Linked DNA regions of Homo sapiens: all the other regions are linked to region 2. The links are contacts of gene promoters, found by promoter capture Hi-C in blood cells and fetal thymus (Javierre and others, 2016). All regions are on one chromosome and are shown on one strand. The core of a region is centred on a gene start or on the middle of the fragment in contact, and the rest is flanking DNA. Distances in the headings are between cores, read along the strand shown.

What was found. The method cuts DNA at HindIII sites, captures the fragments that hold promoters and counts their contacts. A CHiCAGO score of 5 or more calls a contact.
Region 1: a contact is called between a fragment that was not itself captured here and the fragment with the promoter of ZRANB2 in region 2, in 1 of 17 cell types (naive CD8 T cells). The highest score is 6.1, in naive CD8 T cells.
Region 3: the fragment with the promoter of PIGK here is called in contact with the fragment with the promoter of ZRANB2 in region 2 in 4 of 17 cell types (total B cells, total CD8 T cells, naive CD8 T cells and 1 more); the score reaches 10.8 in total B cells.
Region 4: a fragment that was not itself captured here is called in contact with the fragment with the promoter of ZRANB2 in region 2 in 3 of 17 cell types (total B cells, non-activated CD4 T cells and activated CD4 T cells); the score reaches 13.9 in total B cells.
Region 5: the fragment with the promoter of LEPR here is called in contact with the fragment with the promoter of ZRANB2 in region 2 in 5 of 17 cell types (non-activated CD4 T cells, activated CD4 T cells, naive CD4 T cells and 2 more); the score reaches 15.1 in non-activated CD4 T cells.
Region 6: a fragment that was not itself captured here is called in contact with the fragment with the promoter of ZRANB2 in region 2 in 1 of 17 cell types (naive CD4 T cells); the score reaches 5.1 in naive CD4 T cells.

What each region holds. Positions count from the first base shown.
Region 1 is chr1:77,692,588-77,695,287 of GRCh38, forward strand. No RefSeq gene overlaps it. Among named protein-coding and RNA genes, the nearest start is that of ZZZ3, 11 kb to the left of the region's middle. The HindIII fragment of the contact is 7,698 bases long and covers 1-2,700 here.
Region 2 is chr1:71,079,739-71,082,438 of GRCh38, forward strand. ZRANB2 (zinc finger RANBP2-type containing 2) reads right to left here and starts at 1,297. Exons shown (of 10, transcript NM_203350.3): 1 at 1,202-1,297. The coding sequence starts at 1,257. It overlaps ZRANB2-DT (ZRANB2 divergent transcript), which reads left to right and starts at 1,586. Exons shown (of 4, transcript NR_046217.1): 1 at 1,586-1,675. RefSeq lists an enhancer at 1,247-1,536. The HindIII fragment of the contact is 3,322 bases long and covers 1,152-2,700 here.
Region 3 is chr1:77,218,005-77,220,709 of GRCh38, forward strand. It overlaps PIGK (phosphatidylinositol glycan anchor biosynthesis class K), which reads right to left and starts at 1,426. Exons shown (of 11, transcript NM_005482.3): 1 at 1,306-1,426. The coding sequence starts at 1,398. It overlaps LOC105378808 (a long non-coding RNA gene), which reads left to right and starts at 1,516. Exons shown (of 3, transcript XR_001738109.2): 1 at 1,516-1,649. RefSeq lists an enhancer at 1,110-1,219. The HindIII fragment of the contact is 2,966 bases long and covers 1-2,354 here.
Region 4 is chr1:77,762,886-77,765,585 of GRCh38, forward strand. No RefSeq gene overlaps it. Among named protein-coding and RNA genes, the nearest start is that of USP33, 4.4 kb to the left of the region's middle. The HindIII fragment of the contact is 3,252 bases long and covers 1-2,700 here.
Region 5 is chr1:65,419,256-65,421,995 of GRCh38, forward strand. LEPR (leptin receptor) reads left to right here and starts at 1,413. Exons shown (of 20, transcript NM_002303.6): 1 at 1,413-1,485. It overlaps LEPROT (leptin receptor overlapping transcript), which reads left to right and starts at 1,413. Exons shown (of 4, transcript NM_017526.5): 1 at 1,413-1,485. The coding sequence starts at 1,470. RefSeq lists enhancers at 727-1,259, 1,260-1,793, 1,867-1,916 and silencers at 907-976, 997-1,496. The HindIII fragment of the contact is 9,332 bases long and covers 357-2,740 here.
Region 6 is chr1:77,741,866-77,744,565 of GRCh38, forward strand. The region is part of intron 1 of USP33 (ubiquitin specific peptidase 33); the gene reads right to left. Among named protein-coding and RNA genes, the nearest start is that of USP33, 17 kb to the right of the region's middle. The HindIII fragment of the contact is 2,020 bases long and covers 312-2,331 here.

The DNA of each region.
Region 1 (2,700 bases), core at 153-2,652, 6.6 Mb after region 2:
CCAAAATCTCAGAAATCACTGCTAAAGAACTTATCCATGTAACCAAAAACCACCTGTACCCCAAAACTATTGAAATTTAAATATAAAAAGTTATCTTGCTTCTCTTCTCTTCATAGATTCAGATTCAACATTTTTGACAGGACTCTTACATAAATAATGTTGCATCCTTAGAAATTACACATTTTGGGCCTAGCACGTGGTGGCTCACGCCTGTAATCCCAGCACTTTGGGAGGCTGAGGCGGGTGGATCACTTGAGGTCAGGAGTTTGAGACCAGCCTAACCAACATGGTGAAACCCCGTCTCTACTAAAAATACAAAAATTAGCCAGGCATGGTGGCGTGCACCTGTAGTCCCAGCTACTCGGGAAGCTGAGGCAGGAGAATTGCCTGAACCTGAGAAGCAGAGGTTGCAGTTAGCAGAGATCACGCCACTGCACTCCAGCATGGGCGACAGAGAGACTCCATCTCAAAAAAAAAAAAAAAAGAAATTACACATTTTGAAAAGGAGAAAGAGAATGATGAATTACATCACCGAGTGCCAATTATGTTGTATATATTATATATAATACACATAATTATCATAATCCTATGATTAAGTGTGGCAGCCATGAAGATTGCTGTTCAGACCCCTCTTCCAGAAAGCACTTGCTGCGCAGCTGAGAGGAAGAGGGTTGGGTAACAACCTCTGTTAGCTCCATCAGGGTCAAGCTGAGTGTATTCTCCTTTCCAGGTAGCCACTAGTCAGTGACAGAACAAGGCCTAGTGACAGTACAAGGACCTAGTCATTTCTGCCCAATGCAGGGCTCCTCCAATGGGTAATCTTAGCTCCATATTGCCTTATGGAGACCTGGCAGAGAATTTGTCAGGTCTGCATCATTCTGGTTACTCCTCCTGCTCAATCCTGTTTCTCTCATTTCTTTCATCTGTGTTATTCCCCAACAAATCATATGCATGCATTAACACTATCTCAGTGTCTGCTTCCTGGAAAGCCCAAACTACAACATTCTCATTTAGCAAATGAAGAAAACTGGAAATCAGAGAACTTTAAATATTGTTCCAAATCATAGTTAATATAGCTACTAGGACTTGAATTTAAACAAATGGACTTCAGGGCCTCAAAAGTAATCACCTTCATATTATAAATCAAGACTCTTTTTTCTTTTTTTTTTTAGATGGAGTTTTGCTCTTGTTGCCCAGGCTGGAGTGCAGTGGCACGATCTTGGCTCACTGCAACCTCTGCCTCCCGGGTTCAAGCAATTCTCCTGCCTCAGCCTCCCAAGTAGCTGGGATTACAGGCGCATGCCACCACGCCAGCTAATTTTGTATTTTTAGTAGAGATGGGGTTTCACCATGTTGGTCAGGCTGGTCTCAAACTCCTGACCTCAAGTGATCCACCCACCTTGGCCTCCCAAACTGCTGGGATTACAGGCATGAGCCACCACACCTGGCCTATAAATCAATAGACTCTTAACACATATAGGCTCTCACTAGCCTTTGATTGCAATTTTCCTAATTCTCAGCTTATTTCCAGGAAAATCATCCTTAGAGAAACTATTTATTTTATCCCACATCTGTCAACACATAGATCAATTTTTAGCTATGAGTCTATGGTATTGCTAGACCTTTACTGAACATATTATGTATTTTGACAATTATAATGTAAAAAAAATTGGCCGGTCATGGTGGTTCACGCCTGTAATCCCAACACTTTGGGAGGCCAAGGCGGGTGGATTGCTTGAGTTCAGGAGATCGAAACCAGCCTGGGTGACATGGCAAAATGCTGCCTCTACAAAAAATACAAGAATTAGCTGGGTGTGGTGGCATATTCTTGTAGTTCCAGCTACTCAGGATGCTGAGGTGGGAGAATTGCTTGAGCCCAGGAGGTCGAGGTCGCATGTGAGCTGAGATTGCACCACTGCACTCCAGCCTGAGCGACAGAGTGAGACCCTGTCTCGAAAAAACTATTAAAAAAAAATATATATATATATATATATATATAAGCTCTTAGGGACCAGTATCTTTATCTTATTATATATCCCAATAACAGACACTACTGATATGACTGATACCACAACCAGTTTCAAAGGAATTCATTGGGGATTACATTATGGTAAATAATTTTCTGACTACTAGTCTCAATTTAAAATAGGCTCTTTATTATATAAAGCCATGAGTTGGAGTCCTGTATCTGCCACTTCTTTGCTGTATGACTTTGGGCAAACCATTTAACCTATATCATAGAGTTGTTAGGAGGATTAAATATAAGGAAATAACTTTAGTAAAATGACTGAAACATTCTAAGTTTCAATAAATAACAATCATTAAAATCAAATCTTTTTTGACTAACCACTAAATACTAGACAATACACTAAATTCTGGTGATTCACAAAAAATCAGTAACATTCAGACCTTGAGGAAGATCATATTTTACTATAGTAGAATCATATTTTACTATATATTTTTTAAAACTTCAAATAGATCTTAAATGGCTGCTTATTAAAATTCATTTCATTAAACATCAAAATTTTACTACACTGATTACCAGCCCAAGCAATAAAGTCAGACTTTACAAAAAATAAAACAAATTATCCAGGTGTGGTGGTGCACACCTGTGGTCTCAGGTACTCAGGAGGCTGAGGTGGGAGGATCGCTTGATCCCAGGAGATGGAGACTGCAGTGAGCTGTATTCAACGCCAGGCA
Region 2 (2,700 bases), core at 47-2,546:
ACAAAAGCACATTATTTTACAGGTAACAACAAAGTCAGAAGTTGTTGTTCTAAATCTTTTGAACGTTTTCAATAATGTCTTACCACTCAGAGCAATACTATCCATAACATATAACTTTGGTTCTATTCAGTATCATTTGTTAGGCTTGAACTACTCCTTCAGGTCATCTTAATATCAAATTACTATCAATAGCCACCAATTAGAATTTGCTACACGTCACTGTTTACACACCCTATCCATGTTATTTCATGTTTTCATTAAAAAAAAAATTCTATTCCTTTTTTAGCAGTTAAATAAGTAATAGAATTTTAACTAAACCCAGGTTTATTTCAAAGTTTTTGCTTTTTACAATCAAAACCTATTTGTGGCTAACTTAGGTACAACAAATAAAAGGCTTTTATGTGAACATGAGTTGTACATTAAATTATTTTCCATGTTATTTCCGAATAGATACACCTATTTGTGCACCCTTCAAAAAAAATCTGATTAACTATCTAGTCGAGTACTGGCTTTGGCAACAATGTCAAAAAGCAGAGCCACTAACACACGTGCTTCTCTGCTGCAGGCATCTTAAGGGCTGAGTAGGCAAAAACACAGGCCTCTTCCCTCCTTTTCGGCTCTAAGGAGGCGAAAAGCCCAATTCTTGTGGAGAAATGATCCACAAAGAAAATGTCAGAATTTCCCAAACCGAAGAGGGTAGAGCTTCCGGAAAAGGGGAAAATAGTATGGAGGAAAAGTTTGAGTAAAAATACAAAACAAGGTGAACTATAAGAGGCAAAAGGACGAGTGCGAGAAAGCAATATTTTCCGTGAACAAGAGTAAAGTTCTGCAGAGAAAAGTCACGTGGGGGAGATCCAACACCAAGCTGGCCTGACTGGAGAGGTTTCCTATCGCTAAAACCTGGCCGGGGCGGGGGAGGGGGGTGGGGGCAAAAAGGTAGGCCATCTCGCACTCTAAAAAGAGAGGCTACCTTGCGGAGGTAATGTCGAGGAAACGCTGAAGACATATCTAGAACAAAGGCTCCCGGAAAGACCTCTCTCGTGAGGAGATTGGGAGCCTTCTTCCCGCCAGGGAACTGGCGGTTCGCCGCCTCAACCCGTCTTAAGGCACAGAAAATCATAAAAAAGGAAAATGCCGGACGGACCTCGGAAAGCTTCCACTAACAAACTCCGTCCCAATTCAGGACCCTTCTTGAACTCACTTTTTGTCAGGGCAAATCCAGTCCCCGTCACTGACTCGGAAATTCTTGGTCGACATCTTGAACGCCACCAGCACAGCCACCCGCAGCTATGTCTTCACAGGAGGAAAACGGGCCGGGGACTTTCGGCAACTCGGGGCTGTCCCCACACTGCCTGACTCGCGCCTACTACTGTGTCAGGGTTTGATAATGAGGGAACTAGCCAGGAATTCAGCTTGTACGTTGTTGTCCAGACTAAGATGCCTGTGCTACTGTTTGTTAGATGGAAAAGTTAAAATACAAATATCTTTTCTAGAACTAAACTCACAGGCGCCATAAGGACAACCCAGGCAGGAGGCCTTCGTGGCACTAGAAGCCTCGGAGAGCCCCCTACAGGTGGGAGGACCCAAGAGTAAAGTACTTCCGCTTCCTTAGGTGGAGCTGGAAAGGTGGAGGCGGAAGTGACTGATCAATTCAGGGGCGTGGGGTTCGTTTAGGGTAAGAGGCGGCTCGGGCTCTTCAAGTGTTTAGAGAAATTATTTTAATAAGGCATAAAAATTCTGTTATTTCATACACATGGGATGTCGTTTGGAAACCTATTTTTATATATACATAAATAGGTGTAACAGATAAGTAAGCAACTTATACATGGGAACCAGCTGGTAATTTTAAAACTGAGACATTGTCAACACTGTTTAAATTACCAGTGTCTTTTCTGATACCATCCCATTACTTTCTTCCACAGATAACACTTTCCCATATTTGGGATTTATTCTTTTGCTTTTTAAAAATTTATGTACGTTGTTAGTCCAAACTGCACCATTTTTGTAAGCCCCCCTGCCATTTTGCAGACCTTAGTCAAAGTGAAACATTCCACGGGGTTCGGGCGTGAGAAACAGGCTGCCTCTTATACTCTGCTGGGAGAAAGTACCACATTCCACTGGAACAAGGGCCAGAGCCGCCTCGTCCTGGGAACACCTTATCAACATGTTCCCAGGAAGCAGGCCATGGCCCCCCAGACCACTCCCACCCAGGCCTATAAATCACCCCAGCCTGTAAGAAGCAACGGGCACTGGCATTAAGCTGGTCTCCCACCTCTGTAGGTCTTATGCTGGACATAAATCCTGTATTTGTTGTTAAGCCACCCTCTCTTTCTTTAATCCTTGCCTTCCCTTCAAAACCTAACATACATGTATGTTTAATTTTATGAGCTGTGTAAGCATAGTTGATTCTGTACTCTTTTTTTGTTCATTATGCTTCTAAATTAATCCTAGGTAGTTGCATGTAGAAGTGTATAGGTGTAATTCTTTTATTTGCACTGATGTATACTGATACTATTCCGTTTTGTGGTTTTGTGACAGTTTATTCCTTCTGTTTCTCAGGCTTGGTATTACAAACAACACCAGTATGAGCATTCTTATGCATAGATTCTGGTATATAAATGCATTAATTTTTTTTAGAATACAGCATATACAGTCATGCCTCACTTAATGATAGGGATATGTTCTGAGAAATGCCACTTT
Region 3 (2,705 bases), core at 176-2,675, 6.1 Mb after region 2:
TATATAAACATCAAATATATAAATTAACAGTAATTCATAAATATATATGAAGTTCATGCTCAATATCTTTTTTTAACTGATAGGGTGTGTATTCAAAAAGTTTGGAGTCCACTGGTCTAAGCTCAAGGTGCCCAGGTGGTGGGGAGAAGAGGTTCCAATATGGAACACTGGAAAAGTAGGCAAGCACCAGGTCATAACGTTTAGACTTTATTCTGTATGCAATTAATAAATATTTAAAAGATTTCATCAGAAGAATAACCTGATCAGGCTTACATTTCGTGTAGACGAATCTAGCACCAAACTCAGGGAGTATGGAGGCCTATGGAAAACAAGATAAAGTAATCGCAAGAGTCTAGACAAGAAGTGATCACAGCCTGAATTAAGTCAGTGGAACTGGAGAGGTGAGGGCAATTTTAAGAACTCAGATCACAAAATTTAGTGATAATTAGAATATGGGATAAAGAGATTAAGACTCTCAGGTTTCTAGCTTAGGAGCAGCACATCTGGTTGAGAAATGGAGGAGAAAAGGGGTGCTTAGTTTTTCAGTGTCTTTTTAAGAGGAGGTAGGATAAGCAGAAGATAAAACTTTGCACACGGATTTTCAAATGTCTCCTGACTATCCCGGATTCTTAGTCAGCTGGATATGCAGGCCTGAAAAAGATACCAGACATCTAGATTGTAGACCGGGACTGAGGAATCATCAGAGTATGGTGAATAGTAAAAGCATTATAGAGCACCAGAACATCCTGTGTCCACGTTTAAAAATGGGAAGCTGGAGGAGCCCAGGATAAAACTAAGCACCCCTTTTCTCTTCCATTTCTTAACCCAGACGTGTTGCCCCTAAGCCAGAAACTTGAGAGTTTTAATAAACACTTATATTTATCCCATGTTCTAATTATCACTAAATTCTATTATCTGGATTCTTAAAATTGCCCTCATCTCTCCAGTTCCGTCTGACTCCTATCAAAACAGAGGGCTGCAGTTGAGTAGTAGGAAAGCAGTTGCTGCACACTGACATTTCACGAGCCTCTTGCTCGTATTTCACCTAAGAACTGCACACATGTAGGAGCAAAGGATCAGGTCCTCCTCTGTCTCCGAGGGTTTGATTATTTCAATTCATCGTTTTAAAACGCTGAAACAGACCAACAGTGTCCTAACCCGTGCCCAGTGATACCCTCCTCAAACCCAGCCTGGGTCAGGGGCTGATTGACTCCAGGAGGCGTCCCTCAGCTACTGTGTATCGGACATCTGCTGGAGGGCTCACAGCCGGCCTCCCGGCTGTGGTCAAATGAGCCTGACTCCTACCTCGATATGACTAGCGGCCACGCTGCCGAAGGACAAGAGCAACACAGTTGCCAAGACAGTCGCAGCCCGGCTGAGGCTGTCGGTGACGGCCATGTTTACCGGCTTCAGACTTCCCGCACCTGAAGGGGCGGAGGCAGTGCCGTAAAGTAGCGCTGCGGGTTTTTGCGACACCATCCGCGCCTCTTCGAGGTGGCCCTCTGGTCCGGCTTTAGAACTCTGCGGTTTTGTGGAGCTCGAGAGTCCGGGACAAGGTAGACGCAGGATATTGACCTTTTTATTTTTAACTGCATTTTCAGTTTGGAGGTTGTAAAATAGGTATAACATTTAAGAAAAAAAATTGAAAGGTGAGTGGAGGGAAAACCCGTAACTCCTTAAACTTTAAAAACTTATTTCTCTGTTCCCTTATTTATTTTATTTATTTATTTATTTATTTATTTATTTATTTTGCCGAGTGCTGCCAATTCTTTGAAAATATGAAGCTGGATGTGGTGGGAAGAACAAGCGTTTTGGCACAAAAAGATGATTAATTGGATAAACTATAAATGGAAAATGTGGGTGGGCGCTGCAATTTAGAGGCTTGGGGTCTACTACCTGGTGAAAGGATTAACATGGGAAGCTAGTTACGTTTTTGTTTCTTGAGTATCTTCTGTAATTATGGAACTAAAGCCTATCTGGAAGAGACACAGCTGGTGTATATGTATGGTCCACCATTCTCTTTATTATGTGAGTTCAGTTTTAATTTATGCATTTCATCTAGTATGACATAAACGTTTCCACGCTGCTTCCTCACAATTTTAACATTTAATGGTGAGATAAAATTCCATCCATTATTGATGCCTCAGCCAAAGTAATTGTCCCTCTGCTGCACAATGCAAAGTTTTTAAGTTTTACTATGAAAATAATATTGTAAAGAGTATCTTTTGTGTGTTTGGCTTTTTAAATCTGTTGAATTATTTTGTTTGTATAATTTTCCTGAACTAGGAATTTGGGGTCAAAATATTCCAAAACATTTTAATAACTATAAATGATGTTGCTTTCCAAAATGAACAAGCTTACAGCACTATCAGAATACACAACACCAAACCATACCATTTTTTTTCCTTTAAATTCTTTGGTATGAAATGTTACCCCTAGGTAACTATACTTATAATTCTTTGGTTACTATCAAGATCTGATGTCTTTCTTGTGTTTCTAAACTATCTCTGTGTCCTCTGATGTAAATTCTTTGTTTATATATTTATGTTTTGCATATGAATTTGAATAATATATTTATAAATAAGTAACATTAGCCTTTGCCATATTTTATGCTATTGCTTTTCCCATTCTCTTGTCTCTCTTTTCCTTTTATTTGTTTCTTTTGCTATTGCACTTTGTGAGAGGTTTCATGCTATTTAGTCAAA
Region 4 (2,700 bases), core at 107-2,606, 6.7 Mb after region 2:
CCCAGAGCCTAGCATTGAAGGACTCAAAAACTTGTTGGCACTCAACTGGGGGTGGTTTTGTCCCCTGAGTGGATAGTTGGCAATATTTCTGAAGAGGATTGGTGGGAGAAAGAATTAGTAACATTCCTTTGCATTGATATTACAAGAGAGTCCCAGACATCATTAATGCCACTATTGAGAAACTCTGATTTAAGCTGGGGCTTTAAAATATGTCTTTGGGCCGGGCCCAGTGGCTCACGTCTGTAATCCCAGCACTTTGGAAGGCCGAGTTGGGCGGATCACCTGAGATCAGGAGTTCGAGACCAGCCTGGCCAACATGATGAAACTCCATCTCTATCAAAAATACAAAAATTAGCTGGGTGTGGTGCAGGTACCTATAATCCCAGCTACTCGGGAGGCTGAGGCAGGAGAATCGCTTGAACCCGGGCGGCGGAGGTTGCAGTGAGCTGAGATGGCACCACTGCATTCCAGCCTGGGCAACAAGAGCAAAACTCTGTCTCAAAGTAAAATAAAATATGTTTCTGGGCAGGGCGCAGTAGCTCATGCCTGTAATCCCAACACTTTGGAAAGCTGCGGCTGCTTGAGACCAGAGTTCAAGACCAGCCTGGGCAACATGGCGAAACCCTGTCTCTACAAAAAATTGCAACAATTAGCCGGGCATGGTGGATCATGCCTGTAGTCCCAGCTACTATGGAGGGTGAGGTGAGAGAATCACTTGAGCCCAGGAAATTAAGACTGTCATGAGCCATGACTGTGCCACCCCTCTCCAGCCTGGGCAATAGGAGTGAGACCCTGTCTCTCAAAAAACAAAAACAAGAACAAAAAAAAAAGAAAGAAAGAAAAGAAAAATATATTTTAAAACAAATCTTAGGCAAAGCATTTTTGCTTTTCCGCTCACTGTCACATAATTAAAAAGTCCACCAGGCCAGGTGTGTTGGCTCATGCCTATAATTCAACACTTTTCAAAGCCAAGGTGGGAGGATCAGTTGAGCCCAGGAGTTCGAGACCAGCCTGGTTAACAAAGTGAAATTCTGCCTCTACAAAAAATTTTAAAAAATAATACCAGGATACGATGGCACATGCCTGTAGTACAGCTACTCCAGAGGCTGAGGCAGGAGGATCCCTTGAGCCCAGGAGTTTGAGACTGCAGTGAGTGAGCTATAATCGTGCCACTGTACTCCAGCTTGGTGACAGAGCAAGAGCCTCTCTGTCAGAAAAAAAAAAAAAAAAAGTCCTCCAGTAATTTTCTAGTAATAAAAAAAAGTGGCCTTTTGCCCCTAGTATTAGAAAAAAATCCTGTCCAGTGCAATATCAAAAATTCTCTGCCATTTCCTCTACCTTGTTCTCCCTTCTCCCTGGCTTATTGGCTTTTTGTTTTGTGCCCCTCCACAGTTGAAGAAGACAAGAACAGAAAGGATCTTTCTGGACTGACACAGTTTTAGCAGTCAGTGACTTTTGGGAGTGGCTGAGGTCTGAAGCTGACTCTTTCTCTCATGGAGTCCATCACTGGAACCCTCACCTACAGTCTCTTGGCTCAGCAATGTATCTTCTGGATGGCCACCTATGACCTAGTCCTTAGTCCCCTGATTTCCAGGGATCCTCTCACCCAAACTGACAGTCCTTTTGGACAGACATTTTCAAGGTGACCCAGTCCAAATCTCTTACATGAGGTTCTCACTTAGTCCACAAAAAGCATACAAGTATCTTGCACAGAAGTGTGAACTGTTCCCAATCAGCCCTATATGCATTTTGTGTGTGTGTGAAAGTCTCGCTGCAGTGCAGTGGCACAATCCTGGCTCACTGCAACCTCTGCCTCCTGGGTTCAAGTGATTCTCCTGCCTCAGCCTCCCGAGTAGCTGGGACTACAAGCAGGCACTACCATGCCCGGCTAATTTTTGTATTTTTTTTTTTTTTAGCAGAGACGGGGTTTCGTCATTGTTGGCCACGCTGGTCTTGAATTCCTGACCTCAAGTGATCTGCCTGCCTCAGCCTCCCAAAGTGCTGGGATTACCGGCATGAGCCTCCATACCCAGCCCCTATATGCATCTTCTGCTCAGAGGCGGCCTCAGTCTCTTGATTTAGAACTTTTCAAATGTACATCAGTTACCAGATATCATCTCTGTAAGATTCAAGGGGCACATCTCATCTTTTCCAAATGGTTCTCTTGAAGCCCCTCAGACTTGGCTTGAGATGAGACAGAAGCACCTATTTCCCCACCCATCATGGAGGTATCTTAACTTAAGATGTGTAATTTGGCACTGACATTTGAAGTCTCTGCCAAGAATCTGTTATCATCTATTCACTCTTAGAGTAACGATTCAGGTTACCCTAGCTCAAAGTTTCTAAAAAATGACGCGACACGGACATTTTGGATTAAATAATTCTTTGTTGTGGAGGGTGGTTCCTGTGCACTGAAGGATATTTAGCAGCATCTTTAGTCTTTACCTACTAGATCCCAGCAGCACCTCCTCCAGTGATAACAAACAAAAATGTCTCCAAACATTGCCAAAAGTCACCCAAGGGGCAAAATCACACCCAGTTGAGAATTGGTGCTCTAGTTTAGGCTAGTGCTTCTCAGAGTTTTCTTAGATTATCAGATCAGGTCATTTAGAAAATTATAATACACTGGGATCAATAGACAAGGATGCTTGCTGTTAGAGGTTTCCAGCAGGGATCACTGCCTTGGCATACCTGTAAGCC
Region 5 (2,740 bases), core at 163-2,662, 5.7 Mb before region 2:
AAAAGCAAGAGAAGAGGGACGGCACCATCAGGTAGAGTGGATCTCAGCTAGAATGAGGGGAAGTGGCCCAGAATCCAACCTCCTCCAAAGAGCTGTGTGACAGGCAAGTCCTATCCTTTCTGCACCTCTTTCCTTAAATGTAAGTTGAAGCATTTGGACCAGACTGTTTCAATGATCTTCTAGATTGCTTTTGCCAAAACAGAACTCTCCATTCCTGTAAGATAAGTACACAATGGCTCTCAGAGATCTAAAAACTGGCCTTGGTTACCTGCAAACTTTGAGGCCCCAAGGCACAAAAATAATAGCTTTTTTTTTTTATTTTTTTTTTTAAGGTTCATGAAAGCTTCGGACACAAAAGCTTATATGGTCTTCGTCTCTATAAATAAACCAGGGAGTAAAGAAAAACCCCGCTAGTTTCAGTAAAGCGTTGCTATTAAGCAAAGCAAACCTATGCAAATATCAAGTTCTTAATGAGGAGTGTTTCCTAAGGGGCCTGTCCTCTGGTACCCCGCCTCTCCTCTGCCACAGTCATGTGAAGGCAGACAGGCACACACTCGCACACTAGCACGCACTTGGGAGCTCAGGGAACATAACACTGGTTAGTGAGTCGGTGTCCCTCTCCCATCGATTGCAACTTTTCCCCTCCTTCCCTCTCCTGCCTCTCCCCACTTTCTACATCTCCGTTCTCAGGAAGGCTCAGGGAGGATCCCCCGCTGCGTGCACTGCGTTCTGAGAGGCCGGGGAGAGACTCTGGGCCCGCGGTCGGGGCGGAGCCAAGGTCCCAACCCACATTGAACGGGCTTGAGGATTACTTGGAGGGCTCAGGATCTAGGAGGAGGGCCCAGGGCACTGGGTTGGGGTTACTCTGGGAAAGCTCTGTGGGACCAGGTGGGACCTTAGGGCTGGAGATGGACTCTGCGAGCTGGGGGCGGAGTTCTAGACTGGCAGGAGCGGAGTTCTGGGTGGCGGGGGCGGGGTCGGGACCAGCAGGGACGGCCTCTGAGAGTTGGGGGCGGAATTCTGGGCCGGTGAGGGCTGGGGCGGGACCAGCAGGGGAGGCCTCCGCGAGCTAGGGGAGGAGCTCTGCATTGTCTGGGGCGGGGCTTCGAGTAGCGGTAGCGAGGTCTGGAGCCGCAGGCGCTGCCTCCGCGAGGTAGGGGAGGAGCTCTGTACTGTCAGGGGCGGGGCTCTGAGTAGCGAGGCCGGGTCTGAACTATCAGGCGCGGCCTCTGCGAGCTGGGGGCGGGGTTCTGCACCGGCGGGGGCGGGGTTGTGAGTGGTGGGGGCGGGGTCTGGAGCAGCAGGCGCCGCGTTTGCGAGCTAAGGTCGGAGTTCTGCACCGGCGGGGGCGGGGCTCTGCGTGGCCGGGGCGGGCTCGGGATCCGCGGGGCGACTCCCGGTCTGGCTTGGGCAGGCTGCCCGGGCCGTGGCAGGAAGCCGGAAGCAGCCGCGGCCCCAGTTCGGGAGACATGGCGGGCGTTAAAGGTACATCGCGGTCCCCGGCTCGCTTGTCGTGTGGTGGGGTTGCCACCTCCGTTCCGGTCAAGCCTGGGGCTGCGCCTTCCGCGCGCCGTTGGGGAACGGCCTCACCACCCTTCCCGCCTCTCCGGTTCGGGAGGCGATCGACCGCTCCCTTCGTCCCTTGGGGTGTGGGTGGAGCGGCGTTTCGGGGGAGCCTTGGCCCTTTTTGCAAGGCCGCTGGCCTTCCTGCTCTCCAGTGGCGGCACCAGACCCCTCCCCAGCCTGAGCCCTCGGCGAGAGCGGCGCCCTCCACCTCTCCTGAGTTTTTAAACAAGGTTTCCACTTCTTGACGCCACCCTAACGCCTTTCTTCTGGTTTTCTGCCCCTCCGCAGTTTCCTATTTGCCACAAAGGACCCTTTGTCTCCAGCGTTCTTAGCATTGGGAAACTTAATCCTCTTTTTCCTAATGATTTTTCCAACTGGGCAGAGTTGACCGCGGGCGGGTGTCAATGGAAAGCACCCAGAAAGACGGTGTTTCTCGCAGTCGTGGAGAGTAGATTACGTGTAATTTTAATACTGCTTTCTTCGGTGTTTTCTCTGTTTATGGACAGAGAAGAAACCAGTGTGTGTGTAGTATGTGTTTTTTGCATGGGGCAGTTGGTAAAAACACCGCGTCCCTTATCTGTATGGCTTCAGAGCAATGCGAGACGGAAAAGGTTTTTTGCAAGGCTTCCTGTATTTTGGTAGGAAAACATTCCATTTCTAATCTGTCGAATAGAGTAGCATGACTTGTTTTTATATTGGCTTTTATATCATCCTTGAAATTTGCACCCAAAGATATCCCCAGTTAACATCTGCTATAAACATGTAGATAGTATATATACGAGTACGCCTCTGTTCACTATGAATTTATCCGAGTATGTGAGCTGTTAGCAGCAGACATTTTATCGTTATTTCTGGCTGACTTTTATACTTAATATCAGTTTAGTAAACATGGTTTACTTGGAGAGTGTCGACTGTGTTATATATCCATTTGAAGCCAATGCCGAAAACAGATGAAAAGTAGTGTCTCAGTACTACACATGATCAGAAACTACCAAATCATGATCACGTTTATGTGTGAATGTGTTAGAAAATTGTGATGTAGTGAAAAAAAAGGAAGTCTGAAATGGAAACGGACTAAGGGAAGGAAGCATTTTACAGATTGTTCAACTTTTATTGAGGAACTACTGTATGCCAGAGACTTAGGATACAAAGATAAATGAGAAGTTATTGGTGG
Region 6 (2,700 bases), core at 72-2,571, 6.7 Mb after region 2:
AGAATGATATAAGTTTGCCCTGTAAAAAGAGTGTATTCTCAAACATAGATGAGTTTTCAGAATTGAAGTTAATCTGAACACTGGAAATTTCTCTACTACATAAACATTTTATTAAAATTGACATCTATAAACAAATGTAAGTTTGTTTCTCCATGACTTTTGCTGCTTTTCCCCTCTCATTTCACTTTTTATAGATAAATAAAAGGGGGGAATATTCAAGTTATTCAACTGTGAAGCACTTTTATCCTTTTAAAAAAAAAATTAATCCTTAGGCTGGACTAGGAGTTGAAAAAAAAAAACTTCAAGTAGAAAGCTTCATTTTTCTACTAATAGGACCCCCTACTGATGGCATAAATTAAATCATCTGGTATCCTGGCCTTATACCAGGATAAGCACTTTATATCAGGGTTTCTCGATCCCGGCACTATTGACACTTAGGGCCAGATAATTCTTCGCTGTGAGGGATTGTCCTGTGCACTGCAGGTTATTTGGCAACATTCCCACTTCTATCCACAAGAGACAGACAGACCATCCCTGCCACCACTCTGAACTCTGATGACCAGTGTCTCTAGACTGTTTTAAATTATACCCTCTGGGGGACAAAATCTCTCCAGGTTTGAGAACCCCATTTTCATGATCTTTACAACCCCTGAAATAGGCACCATTATTAGCTTCATTTGCACATAAGGCTAAGAGATGCAAACTTTACTGATCCACAGTGTTTGGTTCAAGTAAAGCGAGTGATTTCCAAAGGTCTCAAGTCTAATTTGGTATTCCTAGATCTTTTGGTTGTACCTTTTTAATAACAGGGCTTTTCATGCTCTTAATTCAACTTTGAGGTTTGAGAACACTTTCCCAAAAAAAGTTTAGAACTTGCTAGGATAGAATGAAACAGTTTAAAAGTTTGAACTTCAGAAACACTGTAAATTTAATTTCCTTTGTGGTTTATAAGTTATTCAATAAACCATGCAGGTCTATGTAATAGTTTATAACTATATAGAACCCCTTTGTTACCCTGTAGCTTATATAAGAGTGTCTGTCTGCCTTTTATTATTTATTTATTTATTTATTTATTTATTTATTTATTTATTTTTGAGACAGAGTTTCACTCTTGCTGCCCAGGCTGGAGTGCAATGGCGTGATCTCAGCTCACCGCAAACTTCACCTCCCAGGTTCAAGTGATTCTCCTGCCTCAGCCTCCCGAGTAGCTGGGATTACAGGCATGCGCCACCACACCCGACCACTTTTTTTGTATTTTTAGTAGAGATGGGGTTTCTCCATGTTGGTCAGGCTGATCTCGAACTCCCGACCTCAGGTGATCCACCCGCCTCAGTCTCCCAAAGTCCTGGGATTACAGGTGTGAGCCACTGCGCCTGGCCTCTGTCTGCCTTTTAAACCCATTGCAATAAATTTGCTGAAATATTAACACATTAGTAAATACATTTTTTTTATTATACTTTAAGTTCTAGGGTACATGTGCACAATGTGCAGGTTTGTGTAAATACATTTTTTTAAGAAAAGTTGAACAAAATCAAATCAAATAATCAATTCACTATTACGCTGCAACACACAAAATTCACCAGGAACCACTCTAGGGTTAATAGTGCAAACATTTCTTTTTTCTTTTGAGACAGGGCCTCATTCTGTCACTCACACTGGAGTACAATGGGGCAAACACAACTCACTGCAGCCTCAACCTCCTGGTCTCAAACCGTCCTCCTGTCTCAGCCTCCCATGTAGCTACAACTACAGGTGCACGCCATGTGATTAGACTACCCCAAGCCAGAGAAAAAAACCACGGGAAAGGATTAGGTAAAACAATTCTCAAAGCCTTTAAGGGTTGTTGGTATTCTCATCAGCCACAGTTGAAAGACACCATAATAGAGGAAATAATGCACTCAGAATGGCATTGCCTCAATAATCGGAAGAAATTATCCTTAATCTAAAGGTTACTTTGGTTCTGTCTTTAAAAAGTTCAAAAAGGGCTGGGCGCAGTGGCTCACCCCTGTAATCCCAACACTTTGGGAGGCCAAGGTGGACGGATCACGAGGTCAGGAGATCGAGAACATCCTGGCCAAGGGAACCCCATCTCTACTAAGAATACAAACATTAGCTGGGCGTGGTGGTGTGCACCTATAGTCCCAGCTACTCAGGAGGCTGAGACAGGAGAATTGCTTGAACCCAGGAGGCAGAGGTTGCAGTGAGCTGAGATCGCGCCACTGCAATCCAACCTGAGGACAGAGCAAGACTCTGTCTCAAAAAAAAAAAAAAAAGTTCAAAAAGAAGTCTTAGAAGGATCAAACTGTTCCAAAGGAATTGTGTTCGGAACAAAGCTTAAGGACATTTAAAGGAATGAAAAAATTCAGTACCCATCAAGGTAAAAATCACAATAACTGGCATCTAATAAAAAATGACAGGCATTCTAAGAAGGAAATTCTGACCCACAGTGAAGAGAAAAAGAAGAAACCAAGAAATAGCACAGATGACAGAACAAAGATAGACTAAATCTTAATCTTAAAAATTAAATCAGAACATCAGTGATATAGGGGAAAATGTTCAAATTTGATGAAAACTAGAGCCCTACAGATCCACAAGCAATTTAAACTCAGCACAAAACACACAAACTACACCATGTACATCAAAAACAAATTACTTAAAACTAGTAATAAAAAGAAAATCTTAAAAAATAGCCAACAGGCT